Linked DNA regions of Homo sapiens: regions 1, 2, 3, 4 and 5 are each linked to region 6. Evidence: promoter capture Hi-C in human tissues and cell types (Jung and others, 2019). All regions are on one chromosome and are shown on one strand. The core of a region is centred on a gene start or on the middle of the fragment in contact, and the rest is flanking DNA. Distances in the headings are between cores, read along the strand shown. Region 1 overlaps IQGAP1 (IQ motif containing GTPase activating protein 1). Region 2 has its middle 25 kb from the start of CRTC3. Region 3 overlaps CRTC3 (CREB regulated transcription coactivator 3). Region 4 overlaps CRTC3 (CREB regulated transcription coactivator 3). Region 5 overlaps CRTC3 (CREB regulated transcription coactivator 3). Region 6 holds the start of FURIN (furin, paired basic amino acid cleaving enzyme).

What was found. Contacts are between HindIII fragments. The study calls those that stand out against the background at their distance.
Region 1: a fragment that was not itself captured here is called in contact with the fragment with the promoter of FURIN in region 6 in 1 of the 25 tissues and cell types used here (mesenchymal stem cells).
Region 2: a fragment that was not itself captured here is called in contact with the fragment with the promoter of FURIN in region 6 in 2 of the 25 tissues and cell types used here (lymphoblastoid cells and mesenchymal stem cells).
Region 3: a fragment that was not itself captured here is called in contact with the fragment with the promoter of FURIN in region 6 in 1 of the 25 tissues and cell types used here (spleen).
Region 4: a contact is called between a fragment that was not itself captured here and the fragment with the promoter of FURIN in region 6, in 1 of the 25 tissues and cell types used here (lymphoblastoid cells).
Region 5: a fragment that was not itself captured here is called in contact with the fragment with the promoter of FURIN in region 6 in 1 of the 25 tissues and cell types used here (lymphoblastoid cells).

The regions. Positions count from the first base shown.
Region 1 is chr15:90,485,277-90,488,717 of GRCh38, forward strand. IQGAP1 (IQ motif containing GTPase activating protein 1) reads left to right here. Exons shown (of 38, transcript NM_003870.4): 31 at 754-856; 32 at 1,678-1,813; 33 at 2,219-2,306. Among named protein-coding and RNA genes, the nearest start is that of CRTC3, 43 kb to the right of the region's middle. The HindIII fragment of the contact is 4,223 bases long and covers 1-3,441 here.
Region 2 is chr15:90,503,490-90,506,628 of GRCh38, forward strand. No RefSeq gene overlaps it. Among named protein-coding and RNA genes, the nearest start is that of CRTC3, 25 kb to the right of the region's middle. The HindIII fragment of the contact is 5,406 bases long and covers 1-3,139 here.
Region 3 is chr15:90,592,468-90,595,497 of GRCh38, forward strand. It overlaps CRTC3 (CREB regulated transcription coactivator 3), which reads left to right. Exons shown (of 15, transcript NM_022769.5): 3 at 1,169-1,288. It overlaps LOC124903555 (a long non-coding RNA gene), which reads right to left. Exons shown (of 2, transcript XR_007064758.1): 2 at 893-1,395. Among named protein-coding and RNA genes, the nearest start is that of CRTC3, 64 kb to the left of the region's middle. RefSeq lists an enhancer at 1,597-2,097. The HindIII fragment of the contact is 6,602 bases long and covers 1-3,030 here.
Region 4 is chr15:90,552,961-90,556,345 of GRCh38, forward strand. All of the region lies in intron 2 of CRTC3 (CREB regulated transcription coactivator 3), which reads left to right. Among named protein-coding and RNA genes, the nearest start is that of CRTC3, 25 kb to the left of the region's middle. The HindIII fragment of the contact is 5,201 bases long and covers 1-3,385 here.
Region 5 is chr15:90,575,947-90,579,138 of GRCh38, forward strand. All of the region lies in intron 2 of CRTC3 (CREB regulated transcription coactivator 3), which reads left to right. Among named protein-coding and RNA genes, the nearest start is that of CRTC3, 48 kb to the left of the region's middle. The HindIII fragment of the contact is 6,379 bases long and covers 1-3,192 here.
Region 6 is chr15:90,866,907-90,870,258 of GRCh38, forward strand. FURIN (furin, paired basic amino acid cleaving enzyme) reads left to right here and starts at 1,682. Exons shown (of 16, transcript NM_002569.4): 1 at 1,682-1,805. RefSeq lists enhancers at 2,214-3,352, 2,656-2,705, 2,773-3,067, 2,806-2,915, 2,853-3,147. The HindIII fragment of the contact is 14,305 bases long and covers 1-3,352 here.

The sequences.
Region 1 (3,441 bases), core at 714-3,213, 380 kb before region 6:
ACATTGATTTGGTATACTTTTCTCTGAATTAAATCATGTCATACACTGGAAACATTAAGTAAAAGCGTGCACGTGACTTATTTGAACTGGCAGTAGGGTACATTGATGACTTTGGGTATTGAACTTTGAGTTTCAGTGTTTTGTGGGTTTTTTGTGTTTGTTTGTTTTGTTTTGTTTTTTTGAGATGGAGTCTTGCTCTGTCACTCAGGCTGGAGTGCAATGGCGCAATCTTGGCTCACTGCAACCTCCACCTACTGGGTTCAAGCAATTCTTCTGCATCAGCCTCCCTAGTAGCTGGGATTACAGGCACACACCAGCACGCCCAGCTAATTTTTGTATTTTTAGTAGAGACAGGGTTTCATCATGTTGTCCAGGCTGGTCTTGAACGCCTGACCTCAGGTGATCCACCCGCCTTGGCTTCCCAAAATGCTAGAATTACAGACGTGAGCCACTGCACCCAGCCAGTGTTCTTTCTCAAACAGGGCACATTTGAATCCTTTATGGCCATGAGGTTAAGAGAATACCAGTATTTCCTCTTCTTATATCATAACATAAGTCATTCAACAGAGCCTGGTGTGGTGCCTTATATATCATATTGTTTATTTGGGTTAGTTTGCTGAGGATTTGCTTGTTGTTTCTTTGAATATAGGAACTTTGTTGGAACCTCTTTGTGCAGATCATTGTTAGACATTCTAGGGAGGGACGGGCTGAAGAGTTGAATGTATAAATGGAGTTGATCATTGGTGTTTGCAGCTCCTGTTGGATCACCAGGATGCCATTGCTCCGGAGCACAATGATCCAATCCACGAACTGCTGGACGACCTCGGCGAGGTGCCCACCATCGAGTCCCTGATAGGTAGAGTTCTAACTTTTGCCTGGAAGATCAAAAGGGAATGTGACAGAAAAGTGTTGTAATTGTCACCTCCTCTATTTTTTGCACTATACCAAACTCTGGATATACATTGAGAAATAAAATAGATGTGATCCTGATAGTTTCATAAGAGAGAAAACAACAACAACAACAAAAGCCCAGATGTGATCAATATCTATAAGGAACTGGAGTCAGAGGAAAAGATCATTTTAAACGCAGATACATACTGCCAGCTTGTGTTTTTTTAAAAAAATTGCAGATACATAAATTAAAAGTCCTCTAAAGGAAAGAATTTTTTTGTTTGTTTGTTATGAGACAGGGTCTCCCTCTGTTGCCCAGGCTGAAGTACAGTGGTGCAGTCATAGCTCACTGCAGCCTCAAATTCCTAGGCTCAAGTGATCCTCCTGAGTTGTTTTTTTTTTTTTTAATAGAGATGGAGTCTCACTATGTTGCCCAGGCTGGTCTCGAACTCCTGGCCTCAAGCCATCCTCCTCCTTTAGCCTTCCAAAGTGCTGGGATTGCAGGACTGAGCCACTGCACCCAGCCAGAAAGAATGTTTTCAGAGAGAATTGTGATATTGTAGTGTTGAAATGATTTCTCAAACATTTATGGAGTTATTATGGATCCCTTGCCTTTATCATTTGGCATAACATTTTATTTCTCAGTAAAAGTTGTTCTCGTCACACTGTATGTGTTAGGTGATTCAAGTATTATCTTAGACTTGCATCATCTTATATTTGTATTATTTCCCCCCAATATCTCCTCTCTTTATTACGCTGACTCTTTCCACCCTCCCAAAACTTCAGGGGAAAGCTCTGGCAATTTAAATGACCCAAATAAGGAGGCACTGGCTAAGACGGAAGTGTCTCTCACCCTGACCAACAAGTTCGACGTGCCTGGAGATGAGAATGCAGAAATGGATGCTCGAACCATCTTACTGAAGTGAGTATCAAAAGAAGGAAGAATGAAATGAATGTAATCTGAAGGTTTCTTGGCCTTTGGAGAGGAACCTGCTGGGTCCTACCTGAAATGACCATCCTGACCTCTCGTACTTGTCATAATCCCAGTCACCAATCACCTCGCATATTGTACTTGGTACAGGACTTATCTGCCTTATTTTGCTAATATGCTACAGTGAAATGTAAATCTTGGAAATCCTAACCCTCGTACCTACTTATGGAATGGCTGGGTAAATAAGCCTTGTGCCTTGAGTACTGTGTACTGGCAGCTGCCGCTTGGGACTTCTGTGAGGTACTGTTTGTGCTGCTGCTGCTGCTGCTGCTTCGGTCCACTTGAGAGGAACTAGAACACTGGTAATATTTAAATGCCTCCCCCATCTCGTTTCAGTACAAAACGTTTAATTGTGGATGTCATCCGGTTCCAGCCAGGAGAGACCTTGACTGAAATCCTAGAAACACCAGCCACCAGTGAACAGGTAAAATTTAGGGTCTAACATACTCCTTTGTTTGGTAGATAAGCTCTCCCGATAGGCGCATGTCAGAGAAAGGAGGGGAGACACAAATAACAGTTGGTAGCCTAGGGGTGAGCATGAATGTAACTGGGGGACAGTGGTAGTTATGGCTCGTCTGAGAAAGTTTTTGCTTCCTGAGTCCAGGTGATGTCCTTTGGACAGGAAGCTCACTGGCACTTGCATGCAGAATCATTGTGCCCATCCCGTATATCCATCCCTTGGTATCCACAGGCGATTCTTTCCAGCACCCATTCTCCCCACCCCCGGCCAATACCAAAATCCATAGATGTTGAAGTCCCTTATATAAAATGGTGTAGTATTTGGCCGGGCATGGTGGCTCATGCCTGTAATCCCAGCACTTTGGGAGGCTGAGGTGGGTAGTTCACGAGGTCAGGAGATTGTGACCATCCTGGCTAACACGTGAAACCCCGTCTCTACTAAAAATACAAAAAATTAGCCAGGCTAGGTGGTAGATGCCTGTAGTCCCAGCTACTTGGGAGGCTGAGGCAGGAGAATGGCATGTACCCAGGAGGCGGAGCCTGCATTGAGCCAAGATCGCACCACTGCACTCCAGCCTGGGCGACAGAGCGAGACTCCGTCTCAAAAAATAATAATAAATAAATAAATAAATAAATAAATAAATAAAATGTTGTAGTATTTGCATATACTTACGTTCTCCCATATACTTTAAATCATCTCTAGACTACTTATAATACCTACTACAATATAAATGCTGTGTAAATAGTTGTTACTGTATTTTTAAAATTTGTATTATTTTGTATTGTTGTATTTTTTTTTCAAACAGTTTCAGGGTTGGTTGAAACCATGAATGTGTAGGGTTCACTGCAATTTATTGAATATTATATATTTTGAATTCTGTTACATGCCTTGGTAGATAGAAGAAAAGTACAGAATGTGGCTCCTAAACTCAGTGAACCCATGGTCTTGTTGGGGAAATGTGACATATATACCTGAAACAGTGATGAACTGTTTCAAAATTAACTATGTTACTGACTGAAAAATAAGAGAAGTTTCAGGAAAGAGGCCAGTGAAGCAGTGCATTAGGAAGCTTCCTAAAAGAAGTGGAACCGGAGCCAGA
Region 2 (3,139 bases), core at 640-3,139, 360 kb before region 6:
CCCTGTCTCTACTAAAAACTACAAAAAAAATTAGCTGGGCGTGGTGGCGCATGCCTGTAGTCCCAGCTACTCAGGAGAATGAGGCAGGAGAATCGCTTGAACCTGGGAGACAGAGGCTGCAGTGAGCCGAGATCATGCCACTGCACTCCAGCCTGGGGGACAGAGCGAGACTCTGTCTCAAAAAAAAAAAAAAAAAAGAAAAGTGCTTATCGGCCGGGCACGGTGGCTCACACCTGTAATCCCAGCACTTTGGGAGGCCGAGGCAGGGAGATCACGAGGTCAAGAGATCGAGACCATCCTGGGTAACACGGTGAAACCCCATCTCTACTAAAAATGCAAAAAATCAGCTGGGCTTGGTAATGGGTGCCTGTAGTCGCAGCTACTCAGGAGGCTGAGGCAGAAGAATGGCATGAACCCGGGAGGTGGAGCTTGCAGTAAGCTGAGATCGTGCCACTGCACTCCAACCTGGGCAACAGAGCGAGACTCCATCTCAAAAAAAAAAAGCTTATCAAGGTATAGCAACATTAAATAAGAAAAATAAGAGGGAAAATCAGAGTAGGGGCTGGACGTGGTGGCTCACACCTGTAATCCCAGCGCTTTGGGAAGCCAAGGCGGGTGGATCGCTTGAGATCAGAAGTTGGAGACAAGCCTGGCCAACATGTTGAAACCCTGTTTCTACCAAAGATACAAAAATTAGCCCGCGTGGTGGTGCGCACCTGTAGTCCCAACTACTTAAGAGGCTGAGGCGGAAGGATTGCTTGAGCCTAGGAGGTTGAGGCTTGTGGTAAGCCATGATTGCACCACTGCACTCCATCCTGAGTAACAGCAACACCCTGTCTCACAAAAAACAAAAAGAAAAAAAAGTAGGAAAGTAAGATGGAACCCAGAGCAATGGCAGAGTGAATGCCATGGAGTCCCAGCTGCTGCTGGTGGTGCCACTGCACCAACGGGGAGGGAGACGGGGTTGTCACAGCCCTGCTGCTCATTCTTTTGCCTGTGTATCCCTGAAAATAATTTGGGAAAACGTATACATCCCTTCACACATTTTAAGTTTGACAAATACATTTTTAATGTTTAAATCAAGAGTACCTGCTAGCATGTGAATTTTAATATAAAAATGACCATAAAAATATCGAATGGAACCCACCTTCATTCATTTTTAAAGGTACATGAACAAAGCTCTTAGTTGGAAATTTCTTTTTTATTTCTTTTTTATTTTATTTTATTTATTTTTGTTTGAGACAGAAGTCTTGCTCTGTCGCCCAGGCTGGAGTGCAGTGGCGTGTTCTCGGCTCACTGCAACCTCCACTTCCCAGGTTCAAGCGATTCTCCTGCCTCAGCCTCCTGAGTAGCTGGGACTACAGGCGGCTGCCACCACACCTGGCTAATTTTTTGTGTTTTTAGTAGAGACGGAATTTCACCATGTTAGGCAGGTCTCAAACTCCTGACCTCAAGTGATCCGCCCACCTCGGCCTCCCAAAGTGCTGGGATTACAGGTGTGAACCACTATGCCTGCCCCTGGAAATTTTAAATCTTTACAAATTTAACGTTTTTTTTCTCTACTCTGCTTCCTTCAGAATTTTACCCTAGTGAAATATTTTAAAGGACATCTTATTTTTGGTCATCTGTAACAAAAATAAAAATTTGTTTTCGTGACCATAAGCCTATTAACCCAATCTAGAAAAACATTTTGCATAGTTACAGTTATTAGTGCATATTTGATTGCAGTAATTTTTTTTTTTTTTTTTTTTTTGAGTTGGAGTCTTGCTCTGTCGCCCAGGCTGGAGTACAATCTTGGCTCACCACAACCTCCGCCTCCCAGGTTCAAGCAATTGTCCTGCCTCAGCCACCCGAGTAGCTGGGATTACAGGAGCCCTCCACCACGCCTGGCTAATTTTTGTATTTTTAGTAGAGATGAGGTTTCACCGTACTGGCCAGGCTGGTCTCTTGGCTAGGCTGGTCTCGAACTCCTGACCTCGTGATCCGCCCACCTCGGCCTCCCAAAGTGCTGTGATTACAGGTGTGAGCCACCGCACCCGGCCCAGTAATGTAATATTTTATCTTGACAATTCTAAAAGATATTTGAAATGCATTTTTTTATTTTGTCATTGGTATCTAATGAAATGCATTTATTGATGAGATAAATGAAAGTCTTTTAAAATGAAAGTTTAAAAACATGGTAGACAAATATTCTTGCTAGAATGAGATGGGGCTCATGACCAATTCTATTTCTATTTTTCATTTTTATAACTGTAAGCTCCGAGAAACATTGGGGTGTTTCATTACAGCAGTGTCACACATTTCTCAGGACTCCTTAGTAACTAATCCAAAAGACTCAATGATTTATAATAAGTTATAACATGAATAGGTTCTCCAACTTTGTTGAAAGCAAAAGTTAAAAAAAGATAATTACCTAATTTGGAGAATTTATTATGCATGCAAACATTATTCACTTTCTCAGGACTTGGGAAGTAGACAAGGGGATTTACCAAGACTTTTAAAGTAACCCAATTATAACTCTTTTTTTCTTTTTTTTTTTTTTGAGATGGAGTCTCGCTCTGTCGCCAGGCGGGAGTGCAGTGGCGTGATCTCGGCTCACTGCAATGTCTGCCTCCCGGGTTCAAGCCATTCTCCTGCCTCAGCCTCCAGAGTTGCTGGGATTACAGATGCCCGCCACCACGCCCAGCTAATTTTTGTATTTTTAGTAGAGATGGTGTTTCACCATGTTGGCCAGGATGGTCTCTATCTCCTGACCTCGTGATCTGCCCGCCTCGGCCTCCCAAAGTGCTGGGATTACAGGCATGAGCCGCGGCGCCAGCCTATACTCATAACTCTTTAACTTAAAGATAGCTTATTTAATCCAATATGTTAATACGCTTGGGAAAACAGAAATATTTTAATACTCCTTTGGTACTATAATTTTTTAACTTTTATTGCAGGGAACTTTCAACATATAAACGGGGAATAATGTAATGAGCACCCATGTGTCCATCATGCAGCCCAGCAATTATCAACACACAGTTAAGCTTATTTCACCTGTACCTCTGCCCAAACCCTCTTGGGTTACTTTGACAAAACCCAGGTATAGTATCATTTCAACCATAAATACTGCAGTACATGTCTCTAACACAGTTTTTTT
Region 3 (3,030 bases), core at 75-2,574, 270 kb before region 6:
AGATTTATTGGCCCAGCCTAGGATTTGGCTTTTGACAACCAAAAAGGTTGCCCTTTGTGATACCAGTCTCAAAAATGTTAAGAACGTACCCCAAGCATCTCTTTAAAAAGGATTTTGGATTTATTGACCATGAATTTATCTACAATCTGTTTCTGCTTTCATTTGTATCATTTAGGGACTGATGATTTGTATGTTTTCCACTTGTATTTACATAGCATTCCTTTTTTCCTCTTTAACTCAGGGGTTACACACTCTGAATGTCTAAAATGATGAGTCAGTGAAATGGTTTGTGTGTAAGGATTCATAGTAAGAGAGTGGGTGTCCCATCTACAGGGAGCAGCCATGCTCAACTTGAGCCTGAGATGAGTGCGGCTCATTGTGGCCAAGATATTTTGATTTATGGGTGGGTGCGGTGGCTCACATGCCTGTAATCCCAGCACTTTGGGAGGCTGAGGTGGGCTGATCACCTGAGGTCAGGAGTTTGAGACCAGCCTGGCCAACATGGTGCAACCCCGTCTCTACTAAAAATACAAAAATTAGCTGGGCGTGGTGGCGCACATCTGTAATCCCAGCTACTTGGGAGGCTGAGGCAGGAGAATCACTTGAACCTGGGAGGCGGAGGTTGCAGTGAGCTGAGATCACGCCATTGCACTCCAGCCTGGGCAACAGAGCAAGACTCCATCTCAAAAAACAAACAAACAAAAAAAATTCTGACTTTTCCCTAGAATCCTCAAGTCTGAATTTTCAAACATTATGAATTCAATCAAAAATTTTAAAAGACACTGTGCAGAACAAATAGGTGCCTCGTGGCTTGCCAGTTTCTTTCTTTAATATACCTCTTTTACATTTCAAAGTGTCCTTTCTAGTTTTCTGGGATTTAGTATATGAGTTCACCGTCTTCTGATTCTCCTCCCCCAATTGCATGACAACTTTTATTATTCTTTCAGCTTTCCTCTTAACACACTACAGATTATTTGTCATTATTTTATGGTTATTATAAAGAAATAGTTCCATATACTACTTTATTTACCTTGACCCAAGGCCCACTAATGTATAATAAGTAAAACTGTAAAATCGGTCCTTTCATCTCCTGTTGTTATCAGTTGTTCTTGAGGGTGAGTGTCAATTTCATGGTTGGAGGCCAACTCTTCTTCCCTTCTCTCTGCAGCCGTCATTTCACCAAGCTGATAATGTTCGGGGAACCCGCCATCACGGGCTGGTGGAGAGGCCATCCAGGAACCGCTTCCACCCCCTCCACCGAAGGTCTGGGGACAAGCCAGGGCGACAAATATCCTTTTTTACTCTTCAAAGGGAGTGTGCATTCTGAAATGTTTGAAAAGTTTTCAGGATTTATCTTCCCTGCAATTCTCCTTTGGCCTCAGAATCTTCATTTATCTGATGAAAGGAGGCAATACAAATAAATGAGTTGGAAACTAGAAACATCTCTGCAGTCAACATTTGGAAACATCATTGTAGGTGTTTATGAAAGCATCAATAAAGTTCAGTTTAATGAAATAACAACAAAAACAACCTGTAATTCGGTCCCATTGCAGGGTGTTCTGAGCATTTTCTCCAGAAATTGGCCACGTTAGAGTTAAACCTGACTTTGAATCAGGTTAGAGAGCCTTAGTCTCTTTAGCAAAAATGGACATAGAGATATGTGATTTATTTGTACTTCTTTTGATCTGCTGACCTGCTTTTGGAACTTACAGACAAAATTTCATATTATTTTCTATTTGTGATGTTTCAAACTCAGTAAGTGATAACTAAAATAAACCTAGAATATAGGAAAATCTCATGCAGTGATGTACAGTCACACCAAACTCTGCTGTTAAGTAGAAATAAAGGAAAGGAAATGGTGAATTCACCTGACAGTTTCATTTAATCAGTCCTGTTTACAGGGCGGCAGTGGTGGGTGCAGCTGTGTGACCAGCATTGTGCCGAAGGCTTTGGGGAACAGAACTGAGCTGGATTTTTTGGGAGAGGACACAGAAGTGTGCCAGGAGGGCCCGTGCTCTCACTTCATTCTTCTCAGTACTCGGGCGCAGGGGTGGAGGAAGGAGAAGAAAGGCGGGGTGGGTCTCGCTGCGGAGAGCTGAATTCCTGGCAGTGATGGTAGAGTTGGCTTCACAAGCCTAGAAACCAGGAAGTGGGGGCAGGGCACTCATGTTTACTGAGCACCTACCCATGCCAGGCGCTGTGCTGGGTAATTTATGTGTCACTTAGTCCTCAAAAACTCACTGAGTCGTTAATTTTTTTAACCCTCATTTTCTGATGAGGAAACTGAGTGTGTGGTGAAGTAACCCAGGATTCAGACCAGGCCCCGCTGATGGCCCAGCCTGTGCTCTCCCCTCCCTATGCCACCTGCGACCATTCGCAGTGATGAGGACCTTGTACAAGGGAGCCAGGAGTTGTGGGGGCACTCTAGGGAAACCCCAACTTTTCTTGCCTTCAAGCTTCTTGCAGTTTTTAGTCTATTTGGAGGCAAGGATAATGACCCCAGGGAATGTTTTTCTCTCCCCTTTCTCCCGCCCCCAGGAACACACCACATTTGGTCCACAGAAGGACTGACTTCTGATTTTGTATATTATGTGGCTGTTATCAAGGAAAGTAAAGATGATAAATGATCTTGAGAATCTATTCTGGAATGTGTGATAACTTTGACATTGAATGAAAAAGGCAAAAGGAAATGGAGGCAATTCATCAGCAAATTTGTACATGTCAGGATGGAGTGGTACATCAAACCGTTGTCCAAATTGCCAAGAATATTCAGGCAAAAGACTTGGAGTGTTTCTTTGATTGATTTAACAATGTATTTTTTTTGGCTGGGCATGGTGGCTCACGCCTGTAATCCCAGCACTTTGGGAGGCCGAGGTGGGCAGATCACGAGGTCAGGAGATTGAGACCATCCTGGCTAACGTGGTGAAACCCCGTCTCTACTAAAATTACAAAAAATTAGCCAGGCTCGGTGGTGGGCACCTATAGTCCCAGGCTGAGGCAGGAGAATGGTGTGAACCCGGGAGGTGGAGC
Region 4 (3,385 bases), core at 829-3,328, 310 kb before region 6:
GGTACAGCATGCTCTCTGCCAGCCCTGAGACAATCTGCTTTTATCCAAATACTGTTAGATGTAATGAGGCAGGGCAGTGACCTTGGGCTTCTGCATGAGATTTAGAAGGCCACATTTATAAATTATTTTAGCATGAATTATTTCCGGGAAAGATGTTCACTGATTACTAATATCATCTATTTTATGTTGTTTCTTATTTTCTTTTTCAGAGATTGACATTTTTCTGACCTTGTCTGAATTCTTTTTAAGAGTTCGTACCTCCTGAACTACATGCACTTTGCAACTCTGATTTTTGTACTGTGTCTGTGTGTGATGTGCTCACTGGTTTGCCTTTGATTTTGACTTCCAGCAGCATGTCCTTCTATTCTGCCTAAGGAAATAGTGAGAAGCACAGAGAGTTAGGGGGTTACTTAATAGTTTTGGAATGTGCATCTGTCCCGAAATAGGAGCTGTGACCAAGAATATGGTTGTCGTATTTTTAATCCATATTCGAATCATTTTTCCCTTCCTTTTTATCTAGCCGTACATGTTGAATAGAAGACTTATAGAATGAGAGAGAAAAGTAGATAACTCATGAATCTCTAATCATCTGGGATAAAGCCTTTGTTTGAAATTATAGAAGGGGCGGGGAAACGTTGGTCCCACACACTGAATTAGGAACATCTGTACCCATGAGAACTTGAGCAAGAGAACTGGAATATTGCCATTTTCATTCTGCCTCCTACGTGCTCTCAATTGTTCATGCAGTGGAGGGGCAGCAATAGCATGGATACTTGAGATCTTTAAAATACCCCTCCAAGTAATGTTTTAAAAGACTGAATCAGATTCCATTAATCGAAAATTTTCATGCCAGTAAAGTTGGAAGAGATGGGAATGTTTCCTGAGAAGTCTATCCATGGGATAAAACCAATGATCTACTTGAAAAGAAATACGACAAGTACTAAAGTGACAACATATACTTTGCCTTAAAATATTATGGCAGAAGCTTTAGGGCAGTACAGAGGCTGCATAGTGTGATGGGCAAAAGGGTCATACTCTGAATCCAAATGTGGCCTCTGCCACTTTCTAGCTGTGTGACCTTGGGCAAACCACTTAGCATGTCTTTGCCTCATTTTTCTCACCTGTAAAATGGGCATAGTTCTAATGCCAATATCAGAGTTTTGTGGAGAAGAATAAATGAGTTGTTATACATAACACCCTTAGAACAGTGGTTGGCACAAGGCAAGCACATTAGAGGTGTTTCCTCTTTTTTTTTTTTTTTGAGTCAGAGTCTTGCTCTGTCACCCAGGCTGGAGTGCAGTGGCGTGATCTTGGCTCACTGCAACCTCCCTCTCCTGGGCTCAAGCAGTTCTCTGCCTCAGCCTTCCGAGCAGCTGGAATTACAGGTGTGTGCCACCAAGCCCAGCTAATTTTTGTATTTTTAGTAGAGACGGGGTTTCACCATGTTGGCCAGGCTAGTCTCGATCTCCTGACCTCAGGTAATCCTCCCGCCTCGGCCTCCCAAAGTGCTGGGATTACAGGCATGAGCCACCATGACCAGCCAAGGTATTTCCTCTTATAATTGTTCCTATTGCTCCTGCTTCCACTGCTGTAATTCCTTCTGCCATCGCTGACACCTCTATTGCCACAACTACAGCGTAGGCTTGGGCGTCAGCCTGGCTTTGAGTTCTAGCACTGCTGCTTACCTATTTAAGTCCAAGTCCCATTTCTATATTTGTAAAGTAGGAGTGTTACTAGTACCTACTTCACAGGACCTGGTGAGGATGAAATCAGATAATACGTGTGAAGCGCCTGGTGCAGTAAATGCTTATGGTTTTGTTGTTACTGCAGCAGCTCTCAACCAGGGATCCTCCCACACCAGAGTGTTGTACTCCACTATGGGTTGGGTTACAAGTTATGTTTCTTACTAAAAGTACCAATGGTTGGGAATTATTTTTTAAAATAATTAGAGTTAAATCAAGGGTATCCCCACCCTGACAATATTGCTGTTCACTTCTATTTTGAGAAGTGGGAGAGTGCCTGGAGGAGACAGCCCTGCCCTTCTACAATTGGCCATACTCTGGCTATATCTACAGCTGTTGGGATATGCGGGTGGGGGATGCACATGTGAAAGGTGAGTGCTTTGTGTGGGGGCAGAAAACAAATTTGAGAGTTGCTGGCCTTAGGGTGCTGTCATTTCTGCTGCAGAATGTACCACTCGTGCTCTTCCATGTGGCAGCCCCCCTTTTTAGTTGATTGCCCAGACCAAAGCATCATTATCCCCCAAAGCCCAACTGTTCTTATCTTGCCTAAACATATATAGATGCCAGGAAACATTTGTTCTGACTATTAAAATCACTTTTTATTATATTAAGCAGCTACTGTAACTTGCCCTGAATTTATTCATTAATAAGTATTTATCGAGTGCCTTTATGAGTAAGATATTATCTGGTTTATGAAGAAAATGCAGACACTATCAGTTTAAGAAGCTCATAATCAAGTATGATAGACTAGGAGGATATACAATAACTATAGCACAAAGACGTTAACTCTAGTGTTCTTTTTCTTTTTTCTTTTTCTTTTATTTTTTATTTTTGAGATGGAGTCTTGCTCTGTCACCCAGGCTGGAGTGCAGTGGCATGATCTTGGCTAACCGCAACCTCTGCCTCCCAAGTTCAAGTGATTCTCCTGCTTCAGCATCCTGAGTAGCTGGGATTATAGGCATGCACCACCATGCCCAGTTAATTTTTGTATTTTTAATAGAGACGGGGTGTCACCATGTTGGCAGGCTGGTCCGAAACTCCTGACCTCAAGTGATCTGCCTGCCTTGGCCTCCCCAAAGTGCTGGGATTTCAGGTGTGAGCCACCATGCCTGGCCTCTTTTTCTTTTTTAGCTTCCATTTTTAAACCTTTACGTTCAGGAAAATACATTGCATTTGTTTATAGCTTGTTCCTTAATTCTTTGTTTTTCATTATAAAAGTAATATGTGCTCATTGTGTAAAATTTGGAAAATATGTAAACATTAAAAAGGAACAGAAAAAATGAGCCATTTTTCATCAACTAGAGATTACCATTTTAATGTTAAGTTTATTTTTCATGTATCTTTATACAGGTGATATCAGTCTTCATATTTATATTATTTTTTTCTTTTTCAACCATTATATAATAATTATTTCCCTATGTCATTAAAATACTTTATAAGTATAATTTTAATAGCTAAATAATATTTCATCATATATGACTTATAATTTACAAGCATTTCCCCAACGGACATTTTAGTTGATTCTGATTTTTTTAATGAATAATATGGTAATAAACACTTTTATGTATGAGTCATCCATATTTCTGATCATAGATTTCCACAAGTAGAATTCTGAAACCAAAGGGTAGAAATATCGCCACCGT
Region 5 (3,192 bases), core at 154-2,653, 290 kb before region 6:
ATCAGATTTGTGTTTTAGGAAGATTATTCTGACTGCAGGGTAGAACTAGGTTGGAGGAAACAAGATTAGAGACAAAAAGACCAATGACAAGATTGTTGCAGTAATCCAGGGGAGAATGGATAGATGAGGAGTTGAGGATAGTATTGGGTTCAAGAGGTGTTTAGAAAGTCAAAATGGCCAGGTGCACTGGCCTGCATCTGTAGTCCCAGCTACTCAGGAGGCTGAGGTGGGAGGACCACTTGAGCCCAGGAAATTGAGGCCAGCCTAGGCAACACAATGAGACTCCATCTCTAAAATATAAATAAATAATACAATACAATAAATAAAAATAAATAGATGGTCAAAATGACCAGACTTGGTGATGACTGAGATGTGCAGGGATGAGGAGGAAGCACTCAAGGATGACCCCAAACTTTCTGGGTTAGGCCGTCGAGTGGCGCCATTCCCAGCGATTTGAAACACACGAGATAGGGGCTGGTTTAGGAGGAAGATGGCAAATTCACTTCTAAATATATTGAGTTTGAGGTGCCTGCAGGTAGTCCTAGAAGAGTGTGGTCCAGTGGGCTGTTGAATGTATAAGTCTGAAGCTCTGGAGAGACATCTGGGCTAGAGAGATGGAGTGATATGACAGAGCCCTGAGGAACCCCAGCACTAAAGGATGGTCAGGAAGTTCAGGAGTGTGCGAAGAAGACTGGAAAGAAACACTCAGAGAGGTAGGAGAAAAATGGGACGGCATGGAGCCCCAGGAGCCAGGAGAAGAATGTTTTCAATAGAGCAAACTGTCAGTAATTTCCAGTGTTCCAAGAGGTCAGGAGCTGAAAATGCCCATTTGGATTTAGTAGCGTGCAAAGTCTGTGGTTATCTTGGGAAATTTCGGTGGAGCAGAGGGATGGGGGCTGAGGTCTGTGGGAGTTGAGGAAGTGGAGTTGAGGCAACTCCTTCATCACAAAGCTTGGCTGTGAAGAGGAGAGACACCGGGACACCGGGGCAAGGAGGAGGAATAGGATGATGCAGCAAGTTAGCGACTTTTGTGTCTCCTCCTTCCCCAGCTTTACGTGGGAGAGGCTGGGCCATTTGTTTGTTTTTTGTTTTGTTTTGTTTTGTTTTGTTTTTTTGAGATAGAATATTGCCCTCTTGCTCAGGCTGCCATGCAGTGGCTCACACTGGCTCTCCTCTTCCCAGCTGTGGCACATCCCAGCGGCAGTTAATCTTGCCACTTTCAATCTCCCCATTACCATTATAAGTGCTGGGATTACAGGCAGGAGCCACCAGGCCCAGCCTTTGGCCCACATTTAAATGCAGATGGAAAGAGCTAATAGAGGAGAGGAGGAAGCAGTCTGTGATCCTGTTCTTTGAGGACCAAGTAATACTGAGAAGGATATAAGGGGTTGGAGAAGTTGGCCAAATCAGTCTGGCAGAGAGTAAGTCAATTATAGTGTTGGTATATGTTCCCTGACAGTTTTGACTTTTAATTTTGTTGAGCTGTCTAATATTTTTGCTTGGCTATTTTGAGAAGGAGCCTCTAAGAAATTGGATTCAGGTTTAGAAATTTAGTTGAAGATTAAGTTTAAAAAGTAAGGTACAGACAGTGTATCAGTAAGTTACCATTTGTGTAAAAAGGGAGGAGATATCTGCACTCCCATGTTTATTGCAGCACTATTTACAATATGGAATCAACCTAACTGTCCATCAACAGATGAATGGATAAAGAAAACAGGTTATGTATACACAATGGAATATCATCCAGCCATAAAAAAGAGTGAAATCCTATCATTTACAGCAACACTGATGGAACTGGAGGCCATTTATGTTAAGTGAAATAAGAGAAAGACAAATATCGCATGTTCTCACTCATATGTCGGAGCTAAAAAAGTAGATACCACAATGACACACAGTTAGATTGGTGGCTACCAGAGGCCAGGAAAGGGAGAGGGGGATGAAGGAAGAAAAGGGATATTTATTTATTTATTTTTAAATTTTTGAGATGGAGTCTCGCTCTGCTGCCCAGACTGGAGTGCAGTGGCACGATCTGGGCTCACTGCAACCTCCATCTCCCGGATTCAGCAGTTCTCCTGTCTCAGCCTCCCGAGTAGCTAGTAGCTTGGATTACAGGCGTGCGCCACCAGGTCCAGCTAATTTTTTGTATTTTTAGTAGAGATGAGGTTTCACCATGCTGGTCAAGCTGGTCTGGAACTCCTGACCTCAGGTGATCCACCTGCCTCGGCCTCCCAAAGTGCTGGGATTACAGGCATGAGCCACCGCACCTGGCCAAATGTATTTATTACCACTGAACTGTACATTTAAAAATGGTAAAGATGGGCTGGGCACAGTGGCTCAGCCCTGTAATCCCAGCACTTTGGAAGGCTGAGGTGGGCAGATCATCTGAGGTTAGGAGTTCGAGACCAGCCTGGCCAACATAGCAAAACCCCGTCTCTACTAAAAATACAAAAATTAGCGAGGCGTGGTGGCATACACCTGTAATCCCAGCTACTAACTACTCGGGAGGCTGAGACAGGAGAATTGCTCGAACCCGGGAGACAGAGGGTATAGTAAGCTGAGATCGCAACATTGCACTTCAGGCTGGGCAACAGAGCGAGACTCCATCTCAAAAAAAAAAGAAGGTAAAGATGGTAAATTATAAATGCATGTATAGAGTTATATTATACACATATGTTTAATAAAGAGCAGCAGTAATATGTATTCTTATTTGCTGTACATGCATAATCAGTATTTCAAAGGACTCACAAGAAGCAAAAAATCTGGTATCGATTGTGAGGTGGGAACTGGGTCGAAGGGGAGCGAGAATTGAGGATGCCTTGTCACTCTCCACTGTTATATAGGGTATTTGTTGAGAATGCCAATATATTACTTATTTAAATAACGTGATGTAAACTGTTTAGTTATCTTTAAAAGTAATGATTACAACAGGGCCTGAATTTTCTTATTTACTAATGATTCTAAGCATCTGTAATCTGTCTGTTCTGTGTCTAAGAAGCTAAATCTTGCTGTGTGCCTGTGAGGTGTGGATCTTTGCCTGTACAGTTGGTCCTCCATTATCTCATTATCTGAGGGTTGGTTTTGCATATGTAGATTCAACCAATTACAGATCAAAAATATTAGAAAAAAAATTGCATCCTTACTAAACATGTTTTTTCTTTGTCATTATCCCCTAAACAATACAGTATGACAACT
Region 6 (3,352 bases), core at 432-2,931:
ACACATCTTCAAAACAGCTTTGCTGAGGTATAACTGACACACTATAAACGGCATGGATTTAAAGTGTACAACTTGATATGTTTTGATATATGGACACACCCATGAAACCATCACCACAATCAAGATAATGAACATGTCCATCATTCCCAAAAGTTTCCTCCCGCCCCTCCCTGCCCCCTTCCCCAAGCAAGCACTGATCTGTTTTCCAAATACGTCTTTAATGCTACAAGGGCTCACACACCTCCCCACCTTAGAAAATGGAGTATGATCAACATGATTGATCCTTTCCTTGATTCAGCATTATCACCAACACGATGGAAAGTGATCTCAGATGTCATGAGGATGCATGATTGTTTGCCCTGATCACTAAACGGCCCATTGTTGTGCTGGCATACTGGGCAGTTTCAAGTTTGGGAGTTTTCTCCCTCACTGCTAGCTGTCTCAGAGCTTAGTTCCCAGCAGACAACTCTTGCTGCCTCGAACCCTGGCACACTAACCACCATCCTGTGACGTTCCCACTCCTCATTCTGCGACAGTGGTTCTTTGCTGGGAGAGATTTTTGTCTCCCAAGGGACATTTGGCAATACCTGGAGATCTTTTTGGTTGTCATCATGGGAGCGGGAATGCTACTAGCAGCTAATGTTTAGTGACTAGGGATGCGACTGAACATCCTGCAATGTAGAGTGCAGTGTCCCCTACAGAGAATTATCCGACCCAAGATGTTGATAATGCCAAGGTTGAGAAACCCTGTTCAGGATGACAAACTGATTGAAAACTCAACAAGGGGACCGGGCGTGGTGGCTCACGCCTAATAATCCCAGCACTTAGGGAGGCCGAGGTGGGTGTATCACTTAAGGTCAGGAGTGCGAGACCAGCCTGGCCAACATGGCAAAACCCCATCTCTACTAAAAATACAAAAAAAAAAAAAAAAAATACGAGTGGCGTAAGCCTGTAATCCCAGCTACTTGGGAGGCTGAAGCATGAGAATCGCCTGAACCCAGAAGGCAGAGGTTGCAGTGAGCTGTGATCAGGCCATTGCATTCCAGCCTGGGCAACAGAGCGAGACTCTTGTCTAGAAAAAAAAAAAACAAACCCATAAAACAAACAAACAAAAAAAACTATGAGGATTGAGTGATTCACATTTCTGAATCGAGAGAGAGAAGGATGGGCAGCAGGCTTGTTGAAGCTGGAAGGCCAGGGAGGTCGCAGACTGAGGAAGACCCTGGTGTGTCCCAGGTACCTCCATGCAACCCTACTAGAGAGGTGGTCTCTGGCTTCCTATGGACAAGCTCTAAGGGACCCAGCTATGGGGCACCAGAGCCCAGCGTTCAGCAGCTGCTCAATGAATGTCTGCCAGGCGAGACTGCACCCAAAGCATTTATTAGGTACATAATTGTGGCAGCACTGGCTGGCCATGGAAGGCAAGGCAGAACACAAGGAGCTGGAGCTGGCGGAAGGAAGTCATTAAGTCAGCCAGTGGCTGGGATGCAGCAAAGCCAGGCAGAAGGTAAGTGCAGACCCACCCCAATAAATGAGGAAAATGAGAAGGGCTGGCTGGCCATGTTAGGATCCAGTTCCAGTGCGACCAGATATGTCACCACCACATCACTTTTAGCTCCTCCCCCCACCCACAGACACCCTGTTTGCCTGTCATATAAAGAAGGTTTTCCCAAAGTGGTTTAGCCAGAACTGGAAGGGCCCCGCCCTGTGAAGGGATAGGAGCCTGACTGTTGCAGCTGCAGTGAGTGGCGGGGAAGCAGCAGCGGCCAGGATGAATCCCAGGTGCTCTGGAGCTGGATGGTGAAGTATGGACATGCTTTATTCGATTTTGCATTGACTTAAAGGTTTAATTATTTTAGGAGTTCTTGTAGACATTCCTGAAAAATGCAGGTAGGCAAAAAGAAGAAAACAAAGATCGCAAATGTGACCCTTTCATTCGGAGAGAACACCAATGGAATTTTGTTGTGCACCCTTCTATGCACGTCTGAATGTTGTGTAGACATTCTGCTTACAACTAGGTGTGGGTGCTGCTGCCGAAGGCTTTATTTGCTGTGCCTGAGGTGGACCAGAGATTTCAGAGAAGACTCCCAGAGCACCCCAAGGAGACAACAGGAGTGCTTGGAGTCAGGATGACTGGGTGGATTTAGGACTATGTGATTCTCAGGAGCCTCTCTGGATTAGCCCCAAATCAAGGATAAAGAGAGGCCTAGCTGGACTCTTCCTCCCAGAGCCCTGCTGGGAAAATGGAGCCCCTTTACAGCCCCCACTTACCCATCAGGCCCTGCTCCTCTCACTCATCTCCAGACTTCTGTCACATGCCCAAGTCCTGCTAACTGCTGTGTAAAACTGGTAAGGTGGGATCCAGAGGACCTTGGGCCCCTAGGGCCCCAGGTCAGGAGACCTGGGCTCCAGGGCCAGTTGAGAGTGATAAAGAGAACAATACCTGCCCACAGGACTTGTTGCAATGAGATAAAGGCAGAAGTCACCAGTTGTGGTCAAATGGGATTTTTTTCCAGAGAAGTCTCACAGAGAGTGGCTTTCAAATTCTTTTTAGCAGCAGAATTGTTGTAAAATACAATCTCATGTGAAACCCTAAAATGTGAGACACTCTGGGTGAAGCAGAGAGAGGTGCTCAACTGCCCAATCCTGTCCTCATTCCTCCCTCTCAGGGAGGCACCTCTGAGAACCCACTTTAAAGAATTTTGCCTTATGCAGATTGAAGAGGCAAGCTGGCTGGAAGAAACTGGGAAGCTCCACTTCCCACCGCCTCTGCCTGGGTGGCAGTCATCTGAGCCTAGGCTAGCCCCTCCCCCTCCAAAGACCCACTGCGGGCTCCCCTGGGGCCAGTCTCCAGGATGGGTGGGGCACCTGAAGCAGCAAGTATTGCTATTTTTCTGGGCTGACCTTTCTTCTAGGCCTGAGGACAAGTGGGTAGGTGGGGCCAGCCCTGTCCCTGTTTCCCCTCAATGGAGTTCTCTTGCTCACAGCCTAAGGAAGAAGCGTGAGTCACTTCCTGCCTCAGTCTGACTGCTGGAGTATTGTTCTCCCAACTGTGGCTGGCGCTACCCAGTGTGGCCCCTACAAGTCTTAGTTCCTTGGCGGAGGGGAAGTCCCCACTTTGGGACAAGGCCAACTGGACTTATCTTCCCGCTCAACTTTGAGGACCCAGCATTGTTCCTCCAGTTTCCAGTTCTTGCAGTGTTTGTAAAGGTGCCCGAATCGTACCTGATCCCATTCACTAAATATTATCTCCATTTTATAGAGGGGTAAATTGAGGAAGTCCCTGAGAAATTAACTTGTCTAAGGTGTCCCAGCAAAAAATAGTGCCCCAGGGATTTGAACCGGTTTGCTG